Linked DNA regions of Homo sapiens: all the other regions are linked to region 2. The links are contacts of gene promoters, found by promoter capture Hi-C in blood cells and fetal thymus (Javierre and others, 2016). All regions are on one chromosome and are shown on one strand. The core of a region is centred on a gene start or on the middle of the fragment in contact, and the rest is flanking DNA. Distances in the headings are between cores, read along the strand shown. Region 1 overlaps TMEM98 (transmembrane protein 98). Region 2 holds the start of CDK5R1 (cyclin dependent kinase 5 regulatory subunit 1). Region 3 has its middle 11 kb from the start of TMEM98. Region 4 overlaps MYO1D (myosin ID). Region 5 has its middle 29 kb from the start of TMEM98. Region 6 holds the start of H2BN1 (H2B.N variant histone 1). Region 7 overlaps MYO1D (myosin ID).

Region 1 (3,092 bases), core at 51-2,550, 450 kb before region 2:
GTTTCAGGAGAGGACTGGCCTCTATCACCCAGTCAGGCGCCGCTCACTGAAGTAAATGGCACGCATGGCCCGGGCAGCCTAAGGAGGCTGCAAAGCCACCCTCCCTACACAAGCCAGTCAGCCAGCCTCACAGATCTGATAAAACGGTTGTGGACCTCTGCATGAAAAACCGAACATGCACCCACCCCTGGTCTCACCGTGCGTCCAGGAGTTTGGGGTCCAACGGAGGGTACATCGACTTCACAACATCATCCACCCTGACCGGAGGCAAAAGGTGTTCAGTACTTCACTTTCCTGATCTCCTTTTCTCCTTTTTTTTTTTTTCCTGAGACAGAGTCTCGCTCTGTCACCCAGGCTGGAGTGCAGTGGTGCTATCTCAGCTCACTGCAACATCCACCTCCCAGGCTCAAGTGATTCTCCTGCCTCAGCTTCCCAAGTAGCTGGGATTACAGGCACGCGCCACCATGCCCAGCTAATTTTTGTATTTTTAGTAGAGACGGGGTTTCACCATGTTGGCCAGGCTAGCCTTGAACTCCTGACCTCAGGTGATCCACCCACCTCAGCCTTCCATAGTGCTGGGATTACAGGCACGTGAGCCACACGCCTGGCCCCTTCCTTCCTTTCTATCTTTATTCCAGTTCTTCTTTTTTGGTATTCCAGACCTGGTCTTTAATGGTTCTTTCTCCAATTGCTTCTGCATTCTCAGACAGACACTTAGGCACAAAGACTTCAGGTTCAGTCTTTGCAGAGACTACTTTGTTTTCTAGTTTTGTTTCAGTTCCAATGGTTTTTTAAAATACAGTCATACATATGGAATGATGTTCAAGATTACTACTATATTAAAAAGGCAAATTGCCAAATAATATGTAAAGCTCAATCTGTCATTTGCATAAAAATAGATAAACAAAAGCTCTGAAATGTGGGGTTGGGAAGGATCTGGAGGAACACTCACCACTTAATAGTGGTTTTTTCCTACAATTGGGAGGGAGTAGACTTTCCAGGTCATGTATGTCTGCAGTATTTCACATTTTTATAAGCATTAATTACTCTTGTATTCAGGAAAAAAAAATACAAAGCTAAAGGTATGTAAGACACCGAAAAAGAAGGCCATGAGTTTCATTTGGCTTCACACTGCTCTACTGGATTTCTTCTACCCTGTGGTTAATTTTTTTAAATCAAGTTCAGAACTACAATTCATTCTGATTTGCGTGGCACAAGGTTTTGCTCCAAATCTTTGCTCATGAACACTCGATAGGAAGAAAAAATAAAGATGTATTGTTTGATTTCTAAAAGCACTTGAAAAAAAGATGGCCTCAAACACTCTTATTCACGGCTGTGGAGCCGGTGAGGACATGCAGAGACACAGTCACCCTCCGCGCCTATCTCAGCCAGCTCCTTTCTCTAGTGCCCTGGAGCTGAAGCCACCTCCTCGAGACTCACAGGCCATCAACACACTGTGTGGGATAAATGGAGCAGGAAAAACAATGGGGACAAAACATGGCCAGAAGGAGAAAGAAGTGTGAGGGCAAAAGGACAAAGCAGGACCCTGGCTGAATTATGGCACGGAGCATTCTAGAAGTAGTCCAAGGTACTCTTTAGGATGGGCCTGTGAGCACCAGAACAGGTCCACTCTCTGGACAATGCCACACCCTCATCTTAGGACCCGTGCTGATCCTACTCACCCAGGCTCACACAGAAACCTCAACCTCCTGAAAGTGCTGCCTTGTAACCTGTATCACAGGAATCTGCCTGGCCTCTAAGTGGCTCTTAGAAGGCACAAAAAGCATGACAAAGGGTCTAGTGAATACCATAGTGCAGAATCTTTAAAACTAATGGGGAAGGAGGCCGGGTGTGGTGGCTCACACCTATAATCCCAGCACTGTGGGAGGCTGAGGCAGGAGGATCACCTGAGGTCAGGAGTTTGAGATCAGCCTGGCCAACATGGTGAAACCCCATCTCTACTAAAAATACAAAAATTAGCCAGACATGGTAGCAGGCACCTGTAATCACAGCTACTCAGGGGGCTGAGGCAGGAGAATCGCTTGAACCCGGTAGGTGGGGGTTGTAGTGAGCCAAGATCGCACCACCGCACTCCAGCCTGGGTGACAGAGCAAGATTCCATCTCAAAAATAAATAAATAAATAAAATAATGGGGAAGGAATGCCCAGTGCCCACCCAGAGCCTGGGATGTGGGTTCTTATAAAGCCAGGGGCTGACCATGTGGCTACAGCCCACTGGAGGCAATTCCAGAGAAGGCAGGGAACTGTTCTCAGCTGAGTCCCTCCCTGGATTATCTCCCTCCCACTCTCTCAACTCACTGAACTGCCTGGACTGAGTTCAAGCTGACCAGGTCGTGTATTCCCTCAGAGGAACTCACGTGGCAACTCAGGAAACTGGTCGTTTTTATTTGGTTAATCTTGAGGCAGAGAAAGGGCTGGTTCCTCGTGATTTACCTGGGGCCATGGCAACAAGGAACGTGTGGGCCCCTGGAACTCACAGCAGTGCCATTGTTTCAGCAGGCATACAGAGGTGCCCTCCCGGGTGGGCGGAGGGGCCAGGTGGCTGACGTGGAAAACATCCTGGCCCCGACCCTCTGCTCAGGCACGTCGGCATACCAGCCACCAGGTGGCAGCACAAACTTAGTACAGCCCTTGGCTCTAAGAAAAGGGCTTTATTTTTCCTCACGATATCAAGCCCAAATGAGGGGGTGTAGCTGTTGACTGCAATCCTGCTGGTTGCCTCCCACACGGGATTTCGCAGTTAGCCTGGAATCTGGGAGGTTGAATGCCATATGGCTTCAGCTCCCACCCAGTGCTGGAGGCTGCTGGCCTGGGCCAGGGATGGAGCAGTGGGCACAGCCAGAGTGGGTCCCCCAAGCTAGTCTCCAACACAGATTCAGGCAGAGACAGGGGTGTGGGCATCTGTGTGACATGTTGGCCTGGGAGGAAGGCGTGTCAAGGGGAGCTGGTATGTGGCTGGGTAAGAGGGGCGGCCACGGGCTCTGCAGGGCAGGGTCTAGGACAGGGTCAGGACTAGGCACCTGCTGGCGCTTCCCCAAAGCCCTCTCAGATGGGTCATGCTGCAGGTGGGGA
Region 2 (3,069 bases), core at 215-2,714:
GGGTCGGCATTTATCTGCAGCATCTTTGAGCTCATGAGGTTGATGACAGAGAGGCAACGGTCCCAAAAGGCCTCCTTGCAGCTCTCCACCAGGAAGGGCTTGAGCGGGTAGGAGATCTCGTTGCCCATGTAGGAGTAGGAGAGGTACAGGCATGTCAGCAGGACGGCCTGGAGCTCGTGATCCGAGCCCACCTCGGAGGAGATAACATCCCTGCAGAGCATGTAGAGGAAGACCACGTTGGCCGGCGTGATGAAGCCCTGGTCCTGCCAGCCCTGCAGAAGCAGCGAGCGGTCCACGCTGCGCAGCCAGAGCACGGGGTCCGTGGGGGACAGGTGCTTCAGGCGGTAGCACCGGCGGCAGAGAAACTCACCCAGGCAGCGAAGCAGCTCACTGGTGGACGCCTGGACGATGACCCGTTTGGGCGTCCCTGCGGAGGTGACGGCAGGGTGAGGGGCTTTCTTGACTGAGGAGGAGCCCCCGGTCTGGGAACCCGAGAGCTGGCTGGCCGGGGGTGCAGGCGGCTGGGCCGGTGGGGGCTGGGCGAATGTGGACAGGTTGGCGCACGACAGCGACTTCTTCAGGTTCTCATTGTTGAGGTGCGTGATGTTGTTCTGGTAGCTGCTGTTGGGCTGCACCTTCTTGGAGTTCTTCTTCTTGGCCGACACGGCCACGATTCTCTTCCAAGGCAGCACGGAGATGATGGAGTGGCGCTTCAGGTTCTTGTCCTTGGCGTTCTTGCTGTTCTGTACGGCCGTATAGTGGCCCACGGTGGCCGCGCCATCCTCAAACAGCGTGGCCTTCCGGTAGCTGGGAGACAGGGACAGCACCGTGCCCATGGTGCTGCTGCGCGCCGGGCGGGGGCTCGCGCCCCTGCGCGCCCAGCCTGCCGGCCGGAGGGATAAAACCGCTCACCGAGCCTGCGGCGGCCCCGGAGAGGAGGCGGGGGCGCTCCCGGGAAGCGTGCTGCCCCCTTGGATCTGCCTGGAAAACAAGATGGTTCTTAGCGCCAGGCTGGGCTCCGCGCCGCGCCCCTGCGCCCCTGCGCCCCTCCGCCCCGCGCCTCGGCGCACCCCGCCGCCCCAGTCCCGGGCCCTACCCGCGCCCCCGCGACGCAGCCTCGCCGCCTCCACTGCAGCACCCCCGCCCGCCGCCGCCGCTGCGGTCCCCAGGCGCAGCCGGGAGGGGCCCGGTCGCCGACGGAGGCGGCCGAGGACCCCCGCCTGGACACCCCGCACGGGCGCGACCCCGGTCTCCGCTCCCCAGGGCCAAGGACGGCCGCCCAGCGCAGGCTTACCCGGCAGGCGGCAGCTCCTGCGCTCCGCGCCCTCCGCAATGCGCGCCGCGGCCCCGCCGCCGCGGTCCCGGCGCTCGGCGGCGCTCGGGGGCGCTCGGCGGGGATCGGCTGGGCTCGCGCTCGGCGGCGGCGACGGCGGCGGCGGCGGCGGCGGCAGCTAGGGAGCTTCTGTCCAAGGTTCTGCAGGCACCGCAGCCCCGCCCCCCGCTCGGCCGCCCGCACCTTCGCCGCCGCCGCCGCGCTCCCGCTCCCGCTCCCGCTTCCGGCGCGCGCCTCAGCGCCCTCCCTCGCGGGGCGCGCGCGCCGTCCACGCTCCGGCCTGGTCTCGCCGGGGAGTCGCGGCCGTTGGTGTCCTCAGCTCGAGCCGCGCACGGTGCGGGTAGGACGCGGCAACGAGCGGGAGGCACCTCTACGCGCCGGGCCCCATCTAGGAGCCGGACTCCGCGGCTGCGGCGGGACACGCGGCGTCGGCCCGCCCCGCCCCTCGGGGCCGCCCCTCCCGCACAGCTCGCCGCCCGCTCCGCGCCGCCGCCCAACAGCAGCCCGGCCGCCGGAGAGTCCTCGGCGCCCGCGCAACCCAACTCTGCCGACGCGGGGCGGGCGCCGAGCAGGGCGGAGCCGAGGGCCGACCCCGCCCGCGTCCCGCCCAGACACGTGCTGCCTTTGTTCCCGCCGCGGCGCCCGCAGCTGCCGGCCGCGGGGGCACTCTCGGCCGAGTCCCTGCCCTGGCAGCGCGCGGCCCGCCCTCTCTGAGGCTGCCGCCCTGGCCTGGTGAGGAGCCCTCCGCCGAGGCCAGGGTCCGGAGCTCCCTCCTTCCACCTGACATCCCCGTCCCTGTGGAAAGCAGCCAGGGAGCGCGGGGAAGAAGGCCCTGGGCGGGGAGAGGCGACGCCTTTACTGAGGCCTCCCGAGTGCCACGCGCACCTCGAGTGGACAGTCCAATCGGTTCTGGCCACCCCTCCGGGGCCTCCGTTCCCTCATCATGGGTAGATGACCGCGGCCGAAGTGGGCCTCAGAGATCCAAGCCAGAGAAGCGTGGCCCGTAGCCAAGCCTGAGCCCGTCACAAATATGACCTCTAAGTTCCCACTCGCCCTCTTATTTGTCATATTAAAGCTGAAGCAACTGCCCCTCCGGCCAGCTTTCTGACCCTCTTAAACGTTTTCAATTCTAAGTATGTATAATTTGAGAACTTGATGCTAGCGAAATTGAGTAAAATTCTGTTTCTGAAAGCTGTTCCTGTCAGATGTGAATCCAGATCCTTCACAAAGGCTGTTGTTCATTTACTATTTTACCTTGTTTCTGGAGATCGAGTCAAAACTGACCACAAACCTGGGAAACAGGAAACTTAAGCCCTGTCTTAATCCAGATTATCTCTGGACCTAGAGATGAGGGAGTGGCTCTCCAGAGGAGAGGATGCCACCCAGTTACCTGACCACTCCAGCCGACTAGGCTTTCACCAGCCCTGTCAACTGTCCTAGGGGGAACAGAAAGGGAATCTGGCATCATTCAAAATGGTGCAATCAAGGCAGAAAGTGCTGGGTTTTGTTTATGTGCCACTCAGATTTCTGTCAATAGGAATTCCAGGCTTTAGGAACCTTGGGGGGCAAGGCATACAGTGGAAAATGCATTGCTCTGTACCCAGAGGGCTACTTTGTCCACAGCCTTTCAGAACATCCACAACAGCTGTTATGGGAACTCAGAAGAGGAAGGCAGGCCCCCAGCTCAGTGCGCCCCTCCCTGTGAATGTTCCTCAGTGTACAAGCCTACCTGCTCT
Region 3 (3,050 bases), core at 112-2,611, 430 kb before region 2:
CATCTAGACATGTATACACACTACACACAAATAAATGAAGATCCAATACCTTTTACCTTGGAATCCTAGCCATGAGATAGCAATACAAGCTTGCCAGTTTTACTTTGTTTGCCCCAATAGGTAATCCAATGAAGGCCGTGAACCAAAATTTCAGGTAAAGCAGTTTGATTTTTAAAGGCCAGACCGCCCCAGATTCCAAAGAACACTGGGGCCAAACAGCACCAAAGGAGAGCATCACATATTAACCAGACCCAACCCTGCTTAGGACAGCAGCACTAAAGCCTGGATACATGCAACTCCATCCTACTTTCCCATTCAACAGCAAACTCCAGATTCCAAACAATATTGGGGCCAAACAGTATCGCAACTGCAAGAGAAAATTCTAACGAGGGCTTAGTACTAGGCCTAAGAACCTCTGCCGAGGGCGTTCTCTTTGGAGAGGTTGTGGTCCAGAGGATCCCCCAGAGTGTCCCCCTTTGGGGTCCAATCTTAGAGTGTCAGATGTCTCTGACCTTAGATGGGCACCAGTGCCACTTTGCATGTTTTCCCTCCAGAGGTCATGGCCTACTATGAGCTTTCCTTTTATCCTTGGATGAAGGCCTGGACTTACAGCACTCTTATAATTTGTTAAGGCCACAATTTCCCATGCTCTTCATTCCACTAGAGATAGCCATGAACTTTAATGACAGGAACTGGAGGCTGAGTGGGTTTCTTTTGCCCTTAGCCAGTCGAGTAGGAGAAGGGAAGAATTTAGCATAAGAAAAGGTTTAAGTCGCCTGAAACACTTGTGAGTTCGCCCCAAGCTGTGCCACATGTAGCGATCAGGGACCACAACCAGAAAAGACAGAAGAGTCCTTCCTGCTTCTGGGCAGGGCAGTTATCCCCATTCACTCCTTTGCCTTCAGGCAACACTGGAGAGTGGTCCCAGCCAGTTGCCCTCAATTACCAAGGAGCTGCTAGGAAACAGCCACTGAAAGACTGAAAAAGAAAGAAAGGAAAAATACCCAGGTCCCTTAAGCAAACCAGGCGGTGGCAGTTAGGTGCCTCCACATGGAAAACCCTTTCAGTTCACCTGCCACAGCCAGAGACCTAGAGTTGCCTCCATGCTTAGGCACTGCTCACCAAGGGACCCGAGTTGCAAAGGAAAAAAAAGAGAGAGAGAGAGAGAGAGAGAGAGAGGGAGAGAGACAGAGAGATTACCCTGTATGGAGCAGAAAGGAGAAAAATAAACCCCAAACTTTGGGCTTACCTTTTGGCTGGCTCACCAAAATATGTTACCGGTGGAGGGTCTCCAGGTTCTTGGCATTTTGAACAAAGAATTAGACAAAATGCACTAAGCAAGGAAAGAATGAAGCAACAAAAGCAGAGATTTATTGAAAATGAAAGCACACACCACAGGGTGGGAGCGGGCCCAAGCATAGGGGCTCCAGAGCCCCCATTACAGAATTTTCTGGGGTCCAAACACCCTCTAGAGGTTTCCTATTGGGCACTTGGTATTCACCCCATGCAAATGAAGTGGTGGCCTGCAATCAGTCTAATTGGTTGCTTTCCACAATCAGAGGCTGAAGTGAAGTTACAAAGTTACCCTCCTATGCAAATGTCTGATTGGTTTTGGAAAGCAATCTATCAGAGGTACTTTCAATTTTCTATCTGCCAAGCAGAAAGGCAGGGTGGTTTGCAAAGGGAGTAGCCTCTGGTCCTTTTGTTGCTTAGGTGTTGAAAGTTGGGGTTTTCCTTTTGATTTAGTTCTAGGAATTCAGGGTGAATCAGCCTTGGGTTCCCTGCCTCCAGACCCTATTCTCCTGCCTCAGGCTCACTGCAACCTCTGCCTCCTGAGTTCATGCCTCGGCCACTCGAGTAGCTAGGATTATAAGCATGCACCACCATGCCTGGCTAATTTTTTGTATTTTTAGTAGAAATGGGTTTTCACCATGTTGGCCAGGCTGGTCTCGAATACCTGGCCCCGAGTGATCTTCCTGCCTTGGCCTCCCAAAGTGCTGGGATTACAGGTGTGAGCCACCACGCCTGGCCCGGTTCATGGTTTTTAAAAATCAGATTAGTTGCCAACATTTTAAAAAATCAGGACTCTCACTTATAATTCTAGATTTCCAGCTTCCCTGAAAAATTAATAAGATCTCTCAAAAACACAGCCTACATTCCACCAGTAGCAACAGTCAGCAGGAGAGGGCAGGTGTTGTCCGAGGCTTGCTTTCCAGACCCAGCACTACCCCATTGCCCCTACAACATATGTGCACACACTCACAGCTCACCCTTTTGGTAAGAGCCTGGACCTGTAGGTAGCTGGGTTTTCCCACCATTGGCTCTCAGGGAAAAGAAGGCTGAGGGATGATTTTATAATCCTCTGAAGTGCTTTCATGAAGAAGCTACAAGCATTACAATCTGTGTAAGGAAAATAGGCTCAAAGCAAAGCAGCCAGCGTTGGAATGGGTGACTGGGGACATTAAATGTGTCCATTTCTTGGAGAGTCTCTGAGACGAACTATTTCTATTTGTGTTGGGTGGTTAAACATTTGGTGGCCTTGAGGTAAGAAGCTAAAACCACATGATCTCTTGTGGCCTCTTCCAGGTCTGGGGTTCTGTGACTCTGTACAAGAGATGTAAAAGAAAGCTTTAATCTTGAGGAGGTTGAAGCACACATAGAAAAGACATACACTTACCAAAAAACAAGCAAACATATAAACAAGTGAATAAACAGCTCAGCGACTGCCTGGAGCTGACAGTATGCATGCCCCAATTAACCACCCACTAACCTGCTGCTGGGAGGAAAGAGTTGTACCAAGGTTGTGCCCAGTACCTTTTCTAGCCAGCTGTCTCCCATTGTTCTAACATCCCAAGGCCCCTTGAAATCTCTCTCAGGATTGATCTGAGAAGACCTCAGTGTTGCACAAGACTGAATTGCAAGCAACAGAAAATGATTGTCCCACGAGGAAAGGGGACTTGTTGAAAGGACAAGAGGGTGCCCACAGAATCAGCAGGAGACTGAAGACCAAGATTAAGAACTGGGCAGGCTCTAGGGGCTAAGTGCCCCTC
Region 4 (3,058 bases), core at 291-2,790, 310 kb before region 2:
GAATCTTAAGTTTATTCTATTTAGTTAAAGTCCTCAGCCATCTGTGGGATTTACTTGTTTTTTAAAAGGATGTTTGGCTGGGCATGGTGGCTCACACCTGTAATCCCAACACTTTGGAAGGCTGAGGCCAGCAGATTGCTTGAGCTTAGGAGTTCGAGAACAGCTTGGGCAACATGGCAAAAACCCCGTCTCTACAAGAAATACAAAAATTAGCTGGATGTGGTGGCCCGCGCCTGTAGTCCCAGCTACTCAGGAAGCTGAGGTGGGAGGATCACTTAAGCTTGTGAGGTGGAGGTTGTAGTGAGGCTGCGATCATGCCACTGCTCTGCAGTCCAGACAACACTGTGAGACAGTCTCAAAAAAAAAAGTATGTTTAATACTGTAATTCACATGGTTTTTAATATTATTTAAAATGCATAATTGTTATCAATTCATATAATTGTCAATGCCTACTAAAGAGTTTTCTACATCAGGTCCAGGTATCCTTCATTTTCCTGAGCAGTGTTGATTTATAAATAAGCTAACTCCCCAGTTAAGGTAAAATGCAGCTAACTACTTCCCTAGGTATGCCAAGTAGCCAAATGTTACCATAATGGGAAATCATTTCTAAATGGAATGGATGAAAAGGAATAAATATATAAATATTGAGCCCTATGTTGGATAAATTATGTTTATTGTTGGTTGAAAGAGAAAATCAGTGTCATATTATTAATAGGTAATTTTCATTCTCATGTTTTGGTTTAAATCTTCATGCCTGTCATTATTGGACACTCAGCACCGTTAAGGGTCTTGTATCGGTTCGAACCCCGAGAGCGCGCTAACAGACAACATGAGGTGGTGTGAAGCAACATGCTGTTTTAATGAGCACCTGGGTGCAGGCGGGCTGAGGCCTAAAATGGCCTCAGCACCAAGTGAGGACGGGGCAAAGGTTTTATAGTCTCCTGTAAACAGGAAGTGTCGTAGTCTGACGTAACTGCTATGTTGTACCCGGATGGCCTCTTTCTCAGTCTTTAGGAGTACTTGTCTTCAGGCGGACTCTCTTCCTCCTTCTGCTGTCTTGCTGGCGCAAGTTGCTGCCCCAAGTTGCACCTTGGAACTGGGCCTGAGAAGAGAGGAGTTATTCATCTCCTTAAGCTTTCAGGCCCCGGGGAGAATCTTACAAGCACTTCATAGCTAAATAATGCTATGGTGATTTATTCATGTGCTGACATTGTATAGCTTCTTTATTGTATTTTTTAAAAAACTGAATTGCATGAGACCTTAGTAGTTAACGTTTTATGGGAGGAAGCTATTGTGTTTGTTTCTATTATACCAGGAAGGTTGAATCACTGAGGAACTTGGTATGATGAATTCAGTTAGTAAAAAAAAAAAAAAATTTAAATAGAACCCAGATATCTCCTGTCTCTTTAAAATATTTTTCCACTTTTAAATGGGGCAATGAAGTATGTGTTCTCCTTGCCGTGTTTGCTGGCCGTGATGGTGTGGTTATCTGCTTGCTCTCTCCACTGCTGATGATCTGTGTTTGCCATCCTTGGTGTTGTTCACTTTGTGTTCAGGGGATCGGGTTTAATTCTATGAGAGAAAGAAGTGTGAGAAACATCTTCACTTGGATGTCTCTCAGGTGTCTCAAACAGATTGCATAGTCTGTCTGAATCACAGTTGCCTCCTGTCCCTATCCTCATTAATGGAGCATCACGGTCTGCTCAGTAGCTCATGTGAGATACTTACCCTGACACTTCCTTCTTTCTTGCCTCTCATACCCAGTAAGTTACCGTCTCCAATAGATTATATCTCTACTCTTAAAGCCTGTCTACTTCTCTGTCTCTCTACTGCTCCATCCCAACCAGAGAACCCGTCATTCCTTCCTGAGACCAGCGTAGTGCTTCCTAATTGGTCCATTAGCAGGCACTCAATTCCTTACACCCTGCAGCCAAAGGGAAGCTTTCAAAAAAGCAAATGTGATCAATACTTAAAGCTCCACCCTTGGATAAAGTCCACAAGCCCTAAGGCCTTGCGCGCTCTGGCCCTCCTCCCACACCTCTCTCCCTATGCTCTCTCTGCTGTGGTATAGTCACATGCCCTGCTCTGGATTCCTCAAACACTGCTGCTTCCCTCCACCAGTACAGTGCATTCTATTGGCTCTCCCTGGACCTCCATTTAGTGTCTGTCCTTATCATTGCCTGCATTAGGGTGGAGATGAGTCTGCTGTTTATTCTTCTGCTTGTGGCTCCCAGCACAATGCTTGGAACATGAGTGCTAATAACTAATGATTGATTGAATAAACAACTGGATACAAATACAATTAAATACATCAATAACATTTAAAATTAGGCATGCCATAATAAATAAAAGAATTGTGTTTTGAAAAAGCAAGCATCACCTAAAAACGTATATATCAAAAACAGTTGTTTTCCATTGCAGAGGAAAGGTAAGATAATTCATCTAGGCATCTCCTGACCACATCTTCTGGTTAACTACCATTTGTGCAGCTCAAATGAAGAAATATTGCACCAGAAGAAGAAAGCCAAGAAATGAAGTCACAACGTCAGTCATTTAATCCACCACCTGTGGTCCTAACTAGTTCTTATGTCCTGTGGTAAGCCTAAGCAATTTTACTGAAGGCATTTGGCCTTAGAGGGTCCCCATGAACTGCTAGAAGAATGCTTTATAAACATGAAGCCAAGCTGGATCACCGTTCGCTGTGCTAGCAGAAGTAACCCTCACTGTGATGTTAAACAGAAACATAGCACTGATGCCGCATGCTGAACAATGGGTCTCAAGTGGAAGAAAGATATTTCCTGCCATTCTTATGACTTCTGCTATTGCTCATAATAAAAATACGACTTGGTATTATTGTGCTGTTACCATGTACTAATTAGTGTGCTGAGCACTTTATGCAGAGTATCTCACTTCTTGTAACAATCCTCTGAGGGAAAGGTACTATATCAGTTGAAGAAAGTGAGGCACAGGGAGGTTAAACAGCTTCCACGTGATCATAGAGCTAGTCAGTGCTAAACTGCAGCCAGATCCCAGAGTCCACCTTCTTAATCAATACACC
Region 5 (3,113 bases), core at 460-2,959, 470 kb before region 2:
GTCAAGTACACAGAGACAGAAAGTAGAATGGTGTCTGTCAGGGCTAGGGGAAGCGGGAAAGGGGAGTTATTAATGACCACGGAGTTTCAGTTTGGGATGATGAAAACATTCTGGAGATGGATGGTGGTGATGGTCACCCAATGACGTGAATGTACTTAATGCCACTGAACTATATACTGAAAAATGGTGAATATGGTAAATCTTCTGTTATGCATATTTTACCATAATTTTTAATTTATTTTTATTTATTTATTTTTTTGTGTGTGTGAGACCTCTGTCGCCCAGGCTGGAGTGCAGTGGTGCGATCTTGGCTCACTGCAACCTCTGCCTCCTGGGTTCAAGTGATTTTCCTGCCTCAGCCTCCCGAGTAGCTGGGATAACAGGCATGTGCCACCACACCCAGCTAATTTTTATATTTTTAGTAGAGATGGGGTTTCGCCATGTTGGCCAAGCTGATCTCAAACTCTTGACCTCAGGTGATCTGCCCACCTTGGTCTCCCAAAGTGCTGGGATTGCAGGCATGAGCCACCATGCCAGGCCCCATTTTACCACAATTTTTAAAGTTAAAATTCAAATTCAGAAAAAGGAAAAATGTAAAAACCATTCTTAATTCATAGCTGCATACAAAAAACAAGTGGTAGCCAGGTATGACCTGTAAGCTATAGTTTGCTGACACTTGCCTTAAACAAACCCTCTCACTGTTCCCCAGGAGGAGGTAAGTGGAGGAATTCATCACAGCATAGTGTGGGTTATAAAAAAGAAAAAAAAAGGAAACAGCATAAATATTCATCAACAGGAAAATGGAGAAATACATTGTGGCATATTTATATAATGGAATATTCAATGATAAGTGGAATCTGCTACAATTTATATATAAAATTTAAAACCCTACTGAGTAATGCTATATTGTATTAATGAATACATAAATATGTAATAAAAGTGTAAAAACATACATAGGAATGATAAACACTGGATTCATGGTAATAGTTACCTCTGAGGAGGGAGAGGAACAGGGGTAGGAGTGGAATATGCGGAGATCTTCAATTATATCAGTAATATTTTATTTCTTTAAATGAGATCTGATGCAAATATGACATAATGTTAAGATTTGATAAAGCTTAATCGTGGGTAAATAGGTATTCATTATGCTCTTTTCTATTCTTGTCTATCTTTGAAATATTTCATGACAGAAAAATTAATTTAAAAAAAAGCAAAGCAAAGGGAGGAACAAGTTTTTTGAGGAAAGAAAAGAAATCATCAATTTCAAAACATGCCAGTAACAAAGTGAATAACAGGCAAGGTAATCGGGCCATCTCACAGATCCTGGCTTCCTCAGGCTTCTTCAGCCCACCAGCTGAGAGCTTAGGGGACGGACCGTGTGCAGAGACCCACATTTGGAACCAAAGGATAGCTCTGTCCACAGGTTTGTCCCTCTGTGGCTGAGAGAGAAGACCGACAGTGCCAGACCACCCATACCTGGGCACCTTCCTCCAGCCACAGCCCTGGTTTCCAGAGATAAGCCCACCCCCACTCACAAGGCATGACAAGTCATTTTAGGGCTTCAAGATGTTTTGTTGTGAAAACCCCAGCTTCTCTCCTAAATACCTGCAGAGATGGAAAAAGACAGGCCAGGCTTCTCTGGGGGACCTCTCCTCAACTCAATAAACATTTATTGACCTTGTTTCTAGTCCGTATCTAATGCTGTCTGTTAGGATTAGATTAGACTGCAAGTAACAGGAAACCCAACCAACAGTGGCTTAAACATGACAGAAGTTTACTTCTGTCTCATATGAAATAAATCTAGAGGTAAATAACTCATGGTAGTGTGAAGGCACTGTCATCCCTAGGCTATGACATACTCCTGTTCAAGATGACAAGAGCTTCAGTTACCAGATCTGCCTTCTAAGCAAAAAGATGGAAGAAAGGGAAAAGAACCAGCATTCTCCCTTTTGAAGGAGACTTCCAGAAAGTATCCTTTGACTTTTTCACTGACATCTCATTGGCCAGACATAGTCAAATGGCCACACTTAGCTCCAAGGAAAGCTAGGAAATGTAGCCTTTTTCCAAGACACCATGAACCCAGCTAAAAACCAGGGATGCTATTGCTAAGAAGGGAGACAAGATATTAGAAAAGGCAACTCACAATCTTTGTCACAGTTACTGAGTTACTATGTGACTGGCCTTGGGCAAGTGTCAATAATTCCTCACGCTTCAGACAATGCATTGGATTAGGTCATTGCTAAGATCCTTTCCGGATCTGACATCTCATTCTATCCTATAATATTCTATGCTAAAGCTTTATGCTTAATATAATTGATTGATTCAAAGTCGGAAGAGAACCAATACGTATTACTTATTTTCAAATGTTCAATAATGTCATTATTTATCTTTTTTAAACCTCACAAACAATTATATGATGTTTGATGTATTATTCCCTTTTTTTTTTTAGAGACAGGGTCTCACTCTGTCACCCAGGTTGGAGTGCATTGGCACAATCAGAGCTCACTGAAGCCTAGAACTTCCAGGCTCAAGCCATCCTCCCTGCCTCAGCTCCCTGAGTATCTAGGACTACAGGTACACGCCACCATGCCCAACTAATTTATCTATTTATTTATTTTTTAGAGATGGGTTCTTGCTATGTTGCCCAGGCCGGTCTCTAACTCCTGGCCTCAAGTTCCTCCTGCCTCAGCCTCCCAAAGCGCTGGGATTACAGGCATGAGCCACCACACCCGACCATATTATTCCCTTTCAGATATGAGAAAATTGAGGTTCAAGATGGCTAAGCCACCTCCCAAGTTCATGCAGCTTTAAATGGTGTGACCAAGATTTGAACCCAATCCAGGCTCTTTCACCACACCATGCTGCCAACTTCAATATCTTGAAATAGACTGGGATACAATCCCAGGTCTGCCATTTACTAACAGTGTCACCTTGGATAAATTACTTAGCCTTTTTGTGCCTTGTTTTTCTCATCTGCAAAATGGAAATAATAGTACCTATGCTGTAGGGCTGTTGAGAGGATTAAATAAATGAATAAATATATCTGCCACATAAGTATTAGTGTATAAGCATATTAGCTATTCTTATAACAGGGAACATTTGAGATGTACCTG
Region 6 (3,126 bases), core at 387-2,886, 410 kb before region 2:
GGGAGCAACTGGCATGTAGCAGATAGAGGCCGTAGAGGCTGCTTAACATCCTACAATGCACAGAACCCCACAACAAAGAGTTAACCAGCCCCAACATGTCAACAGGGCTATGGTTGAGAAGCTCTGTTCTATATATCCTCACTACACATCATGCACCTTCTCTCCTCTCCCATCTTTCCTTAATCTCATTTTCCCCTTTGTTTCCCAAGATAAGCAACAGATTCTAGATGATATTACCGGAATATGGGAGCTGTGGTATGACACACGTGAACACTCAAACTTACTTCCTTGTCATGAAGGCGTAAAATTCAGTCAAGATTTCAGAAAATCTCCTTACATCTTTTGAATCTTCCCAGCTTTTGAGGGGGAAGATTTTCCTGATTGTTTTCTACCAATTTCTTATGCCACGGGGTGAAGTTGGGTGGGCAGGAGGAAGGAACCAGGGTGCCTACCCCTCCTAAGTAATATTAGAAATACAGAGCATCATTTGACGAAAACTGATCTATGCCACTCTTCAAAGTTACAAAACAGACTAGGTGGCAAATATCCGCTTTACAAGAAAAGGAGAGGGCGTTTAAGAATCAGTTTAGGCCAGGCGCAGTGGCTCATGTCTATAATTCCAACACTTTGGGAGGCCAACATAGGAGGATTGCTTGAGCCCAGGAGTTCAAGACCAGCCTGGGAAACGTAGTGAGACCCTATCTAAAAAAAATAAAAACCCACTAAAACAGACAAGCAAATTAGCTAGGCATGGTGGCGTGGGCTTATAGTCTCATCTACTTGGGAGGTTGAGGTGGAAGAATCATTTGAGCCCAGGAGATGGAGGCTGCAGTGAGCTATGATTGCAACAATGCACTATAGTCTGGGTGACAGAGCAAGACCCCATCTCAAAAAAAAGGAAAAAGAATCAGTTTACAGATTTACAGATTGCCTGTCAACAGATACGAGAGCGAGAGAGACATTCATTAAGAGCTCAGGTGTTCAGAGCTGCTGCCAACAGAAAGAAAACGAAGCGAGAGAAGACAGCAGCCATTAGCAGATCCAATTTAGAAAAGCTGTTGGCACATAACTTTTCAGGAACACTATGTGTGAAGGACTCCTGTATCACAGTAAGTTGAAGTCAAGATGATACCCAGGGCCGCTAACATGATACCTCTCTTGGCCATTCTAAGCTTCTACAAAGAGTGCACCAACTCACTTGCTTTAGGATTTTCCCCATGTAACTAAAATAGGCTTCCTTCCTCCTCTTCTTTCTCCACCTCCTCTTCTTCCCAGTGGCTGAGTTGGCCCACTCATGCTTCTTTTTGACTGGGAAATAAAGCTCAGTCTTGTTCTTAGGGAATCTTAGGTCATTTAAGCAAATGAAATACATGTTGAAAGCTCAATCTTTAGGCCCCTAGCTCAGAGCACTGGCTGTAGGTCAGTGTGTGCTCCAAAAAGGTTTTATAGGGAGCGCTGAAGTATGCTTTCCTAATTAAATTAGTGATCACACCTGCAGAAGATGAAGGTGCTCAGAATCCTTAATAGATATTAGGTGTAGGCCGGCACAGTGGCTCACACTTGTAATCCCAGCACTTTGGGAGGCCGAGGTGGGAGGATCACTTCACCCCAGGAGTTTGAGACCAGCCTGGGCAACATGGTGAAACCCTGTCTCTACCAAAAAAAAAAAAAAATTGTCGGGCATGGTGGTACATGCCTGTGGTCCCAGCTACTTGGGAGGCTGAGGTGGGAGGATCACCTGAGCCCAGGAGATGGAGGCTGCAGTGAGCCGTGATCATGCCACTGCACTCCTGCACTCCATTCTGGGTGACAGAGTAAGACTCTGTTTCAAAAAAAAAAAAAAAAAAAAGATTAGGTGTAGACTCTAAACGAGAGAGGCTACTTTGATGCAATGGCCATTAATTTACCAGGCAACAGTCATTTCAGAAGTTATTCTTTTATTGTACCTAACTCAAGGTGTTTTTATTACATGATTCTTAGCCACTAAGATTTATATTCAAAAGACTGGGAGTGAAACCTGGAAGATAGATGTTTCTAAAGCAGGCCAGGTAAATCTAATGACCAACCAGATATGGAATTTATTGATCTATGAAAGCTTCCTGAAACAACTACACAAGATTTGGGTTGGAGTGGAGGAGGCATCTATTCACAGACATTGCACTTATGCCTTGTATTTGTATTTGCATCAGGAGAAAAACGCATCCTCTGAAAGGCAAGCACATACCTGGTTATGCAACAGCAATTAGGAACTTGGGTGACAGCATGAACAAAAATGCCAGGAAGTGACTGTATCTACAAGACTCAACTTTGAGAAATTGTAGATAGCCCATGAACTTCCTGCAATTAGTGTATCAGTTCAGCTACAAGGAATTGACCAGCCTGACACGAACGAACAGATAAGAGGACACCAGAGAACCAGGGTGTCAAAGGAGAGAAGAACCAGATCAGAACAGACACTCTTTCCCCTACTACTGGTTATAAGTTGCTTCAAAGCCTTGGTGCAAGGGACTGGCAGATAATAACAGTGCCGTCAACTTAGGAGCCCTAACTATGTCCCAGATGCCACACTAACATTCTTTATCCCATTTAATTATCAGAGCAACGCTATGAGGTAAGATATTAGCATTACTCCACTTAACAGAGAAGGACACTGAGGTTCAGAGGGCTTAAGTGACTTGCACAGGGTCATATACAGTGTCTGAGTGGCAAAGCCAGCCTTGGAGCCTTTGCTTTCTAACTCGCATTCTCTCTCCTTCCAAAACTGAACACCAGAGCCCCACAATGTTTGTAGTTACACATGTGCTCTACATAATTGCTACATGTATCAATTCATTGCTGGAGAATTTCAAATGTAACTTATTTATAGTGTAGGTTGAATTCTTCTGAATTATTTCTTTGATACTCTGCAAAGTCCTGAATTTAAAACCCTGAAAAAAAAATCTGAATAGTGCCTGAGTTAACAACAACGACAACAAAAACTAAACAGAATACCTCTGTGTACTGGAAAGGAACAAGTATGAAAGGAAAAGGTAGTTGCTTGTTGCCTGGTTGTCAAAACCATGCCCCCACCCCACCCCCAACTCTTACTCTCAAGTCACCAGTCTCATCTTTAAACTCTCTATTTTA
Region 7 (3,276 bases), core at 306-2,805, 370 kb before region 2:
GGAAGGGAATCTTGAGGTTCCTCACTGTTGTATAGATGCATGAAGTTAGAAACACAGAAAGTCAGGACTTTTTACTAGTCTAGTGGCACATTTACTACGGGGGCAAAAATCTGTCTCCTAGCTTTGTGTTTATTATTCGGTTTTTGTCCTATTCCTAGCTCTTTTGCTTTGCAATCAAGTAGCAACTCTTCAATTTCCTTTATTATTCTCACTTAAAAGACCTGAACTAGTTGAAACAATGGAAAAGCTTACAATGTAAATAAGAAGTAAACCTCTAGTTCTCTATTGAAGGGCAACAATTTAACAATACAAATACAAAATAACATTGTTGTAGGTGTGAGAAAGATGGAGGTCTTAGTAGTCTATGTTATGTGTCACCATTGACTTGGGCTATGTCAGAGGAAATACAGGGACTTGGAAGTTCCCTAGCTTATCACACCTCTCCTGGAGGGGTGTGTGGTTGCTAGCTTCACTCTATATCAGTCAGAATGCTGTTGGGGGCAGCTAAAAAGAAAACCAGACCAAACTGGCTTAAACAGAAAAGAAACATGTTATCTCACACAACAAGAAGGCTAATGATAAGAGAGGTTCTGGCCAGTCCCTAAGGACTCTGCCTCCACTTGTCTGTGATTCCCTTGGTTTTGCCCTTCTTGTGCTGGTTTCATCCTCAGCTGGTGGAAGGTCGTTGCAACAGTTCTGTGCATCTCACCCAGGCACAGTAATGTCCTGAGGAAGGAGAGTGAGCTCTCTGCTTGTGTTGTGCTCCTTGCTTAGGAAGCCCCCCAGAAGACTTCCTTACATGTCACATTAGTTAGCATTTGGTCACATGCCCATTATTAAACCTGCCACTGGTAAGAGGAATGTGGTTATCATGATGGAATAGTCAGGCGCTGATGATAGATTTCTCATTTCCTGCAGCATGTGGCTGTATGGAAGGGAGTGGATACCTGAACAAAGTCAGGCTTTTTTAGGAAAGAAGGAATTTTAGGGGCAGAATAGGATATTGGATAGGCAACCAAAAGTGCCTCCTCTACACAGTTTTACAAGCTATGTAGACAGAATAGGATTTATTCAGAAAAGAATGCTCAATATGTTGAGGGTACTTGAAACCATGTCATTTAAGGAATGACTGAAGGAACAAGACAGGACATGAACACCAACCTCAAATACTTGCGTATGAATTGATTATGTTTATTCTGGGAGACCCCAAAAGACAGAATTCATGCCAGTGGGTAAAAGTGAAGAGATGTAGATTTATCTTTCTGCTCCTTTTCTTCCTCTTCTTCTCTTCCTCCTGAAGAATTTGGTCCTAAAGCCATTGGGTTGGGGCACAGCAAGGTAGGCATCCATCCCAGGGGAAGGGGAGCCACAGGGGCCCAGATTAGAGTTTGGAGCCAAGTTGAGTAAAGAGGGGGCCAATGCATGAGGACCTGAGTATGGAAAAAGAGCATCCGTGCTGGCATGGTCTTGGTGACAGCAGTGGGAGATAAGTGATAAACAGGGAGATTGACAAACAAGTAAATATGTTGAGGATAATGGAGTCAGGTTTCTCATGGTCATAAAAGAGAGCTCCAAATATGGAAAGGGGAAAAGTACAGTCAACCCTTTGTAGTTAGATTGGAATCAGAAGTTTTCAATATACAGCTAGACAGAGGAGTAAATATAGATGTGAATGCGTATGCACCTATATCCATACATTATGTATTCCCCATCTCTGTCCATTGTGAGGACCTGGGAGCAGTGATACCTTAATATAATAGCAATGGTCACACCTAGTACCATCCTCCACTGAAAGAAATCAGGGCTTTGTGGAGAAATGGGTAATTCCAGGGTTGTCACAAAGTAAATATTAATACAAGGTGAGCCGGGGGCATCTTGTATTTTCAGAAAGCAAGGAAATCCTCAAAGAATGATGAAAAATGTAAAACAGATTCAGAAAGCAGCTTAAGTGAGTACCCACTAGCTAAATCTGGGTCAGTTTAATCATCAAAATGAAATCGGAAACCATGAGTCCATACTTACATAAACTAATAAATAACTTTTGAAGTTTGATGAGGAATGGGATATTTACTTAGTATCTCCCTACAAAATGTTCAATTAATTAATACCAAAGAAAAAAAGATTATTGTTACAGTGGAGAAGCCTGACAGATGCTACCTTAATGAAGTGATCAAAATGAACAATGTCAGAAATGGGACAAATCAGAATCATGTACCATGTGATCAGGTGCAATGAGAAAAACACAGCATTACTTCCTCTGTGACATTCCTGCTAAAGATGCATAACCTGAATCTAATCAGAGGAAACACCTAGCAAGCTCAGATTGAAGGCCAGTCTTTAAAATAACTAGCCTGTAACCTTCAAAAATGTTAAATTCCAAGAAAGACTGAGGAAGTATTCTAGAAGCAACGAGAATAACAAGACATAACAACTAAAGGTGAAGCATGATGCTGAACTGTATACTTTTGCTATAAGGGACATTTATTGGGGCATTTGGTAGAATTTGAATAGGGTTCAAGAATTAAATCTTAGCAATATATCATATGTTAATCTCCTGATATTGATAGTTGTATTTTGGAACTGCTACTTAGACATCAAATGGTTCCCAAAGAAGGTAATGAGTTTCTGGTCATGTGAACTTATTGAAACTGGAGTTAAAGGTTCACTCATTAGGTTCTTGTAAAGAGATGTTGTGCATCTGGAATATTGGTCTATGTGGCCTCTAAAGTCATACATTCTAGGATTCCAGTTGTCTAAATGCATATTTTAAAGGAACAGTTGAAAATATTAAATGATGTTATGCTCTCAGTTATTACAAATTAACAATTAACATTACCAATCAACAGGTATTACTTAAAGCTTTTTGCTAGAAACTGTGTATACTGAGGACTACATATAATTCGTTCCAAGAATAATGATATAATTGGAGATAAATGGAATGAAAAGATATGTAACCCCCGAAAGTAGCATATAATAAATGCCTGATGATTAGTAGCAATATTCTACAGTTCACATGTGGAGAAAATTTCTGAGGAGTCTGAGCTTTGGTGGTTAAGGAAGGCCTTTATTGATTAAGGGATTGGGCTGAATGCTGGAATGTGAATAAGACTTAGGTATGCATGAAGTAAGAATGGCAAGGGAGAGCATTCCATGCAGGGGTGCCTCTGTGAATGGTTGTGACATGTTCAGGGACGGTGAGAAGACCAGTCTGATAGGGTTAAAGGAGTCTATTTTTTTTTTTTTTTTTTGAGGTGGAGTCTTGCTCTGTCGTCCAGG

Evidence for each region. The method cuts DNA at HindIII sites, captures the fragments that hold promoters and counts their contacts. A CHiCAGO score of 5 or more calls a contact.
Region 1: a contact is called between a fragment that was not itself captured here and the fragment with the promoter of CDK5R1 in region 2, in 2 of 17 cell types (M1 macrophages and endothelial precursors). The highest score is 6.7, in M1 macrophages.
Region 3: a fragment that was not itself captured here is called in contact with the fragment with the promoter of CDK5R1 in region 2 in 3 of 17 cell types (naive B cells, endothelial precursors and M1 macrophages); the score reaches 6.7 in naive B cells.
Region 4: a fragment that was not itself captured here is called in contact with the fragment with the promoter of CDK5R1 in region 2 in 1 of 17 cell types (total CD4 T cells); the score reaches 5.0 in total CD4 T cells.
Region 5: a contact is called between a fragment that was not itself captured here and the fragment with the promoter of CDK5R1 in region 2, in 1 of 17 cell types (megakaryocytes). The highest score is 5.1, in megakaryocytes.
Region 6: a fragment that was not itself captured here is called in contact with the fragment with the promoter of CDK5R1 in region 2 in 6 of 17 cell types (endothelial precursors, megakaryocytes, naive CD8 T cells and 3 more); the score reaches 8.4 in endothelial precursors.
Region 7: a contact is called between a fragment that was not itself captured here and the fragment with the promoter of CDK5R1 in region 2, in 4 of 17 cell types (naive CD4 T cells, naive B cells, naive CD8 T cells and 1 more). The highest score is 6.2, in naive CD4 T cells.

What each region holds. Positions count from the first base shown.
Region 1 is chr17:32,936,642-32,939,733 of GRCh38, reverse strand. TMEM98 (transmembrane protein 98) reads right to left here. Exons shown (of 8, transcript NM_015544.3): 7 at 198-257. Among named protein-coding and RNA genes, the nearest start is that of TMEM98, 10 kb to the right of the region's middle. RefSeq lists enhancers at 2,449-2,743, 2,654-3,092. The HindIII fragment of the contact is 4,161 bases long and covers 1-3,092 here.
Region 2 is chr17:32,485,388-32,488,456 of GRCh38, reverse strand. CDK5R1 (cyclin dependent kinase 5 regulatory subunit 1) reads right to left here and starts at 1,464. Exons shown (of 2, transcript NM_003885.3): 1 at 1,295-1,464; 2 at 1-981. The coding sequence starts at 836. RefSeq lists enhancers at 378-937, 2,177-2,678 and silencers at 825-1,114, 1,205-1,464, 1,575-2,104. The HindIII fragment of the contact is 10,728 bases long and covers 1-3,069 here.
Region 3 is chr17:32,915,858-32,918,907 of GRCh38, reverse strand. No RefSeq gene overlaps it. Among named protein-coding and RNA genes, the nearest start is that of TMEM98, 11 kb to the left of the region's middle. RefSeq lists an enhancer at 431-1,062. The HindIII fragment of the contact is 2,539 bases long and covers 92-2,630 here.
Region 4 is chr17:32,793,731-32,796,788 of GRCh38, reverse strand. All of the region lies in intron 1 of MYO1D (myosin ID), which reads left to right. Among named protein-coding and RNA genes, the nearest start is that of MYO1D-DT, 82 kb to the left of the region's middle. The HindIII fragment of the contact is 807 bases long and covers 1,137-1,943 here.
Region 5 is chr17:32,955,160-32,958,272 of GRCh38, reverse strand. No RefSeq gene overlaps it. Among named protein-coding and RNA genes, the nearest start is that of TMEM98, 29 kb to the right of the region's middle. The HindIII fragment of the contact is 1,179 bases long and covers 1,120-2,298 here.
Region 6 is chr17:32,893,679-32,896,804 of GRCh38, reverse strand. It overlaps H2BN1 (H2B.N variant histone 1), which reads right to left and starts at 1,372. Exons shown (of 2, transcript NM_001401340.1): 1 at 1,199-1,372. The coding sequence starts at 1,372. All of the region lies in intron 3 of MYO1D-DT (MYO1D divergent transcript), which reads right to left. RefSeq lists cis regulatory regions at 2,340-2,401, 1,893-2,967. The HindIII fragment of the contact is 923 bases long and covers 1,175-2,097 here.
Region 7 is chr17:32,857,557-32,860,832 of GRCh38, reverse strand. All of the region lies in intron 1 of MYO1D (myosin ID), which reads left to right. Among named protein-coding and RNA genes, the nearest start is that of MYO1D-DT, 18 kb to the left of the region's middle. The HindIII fragment of the contact is 2,612 bases long and covers 250-2,861 here.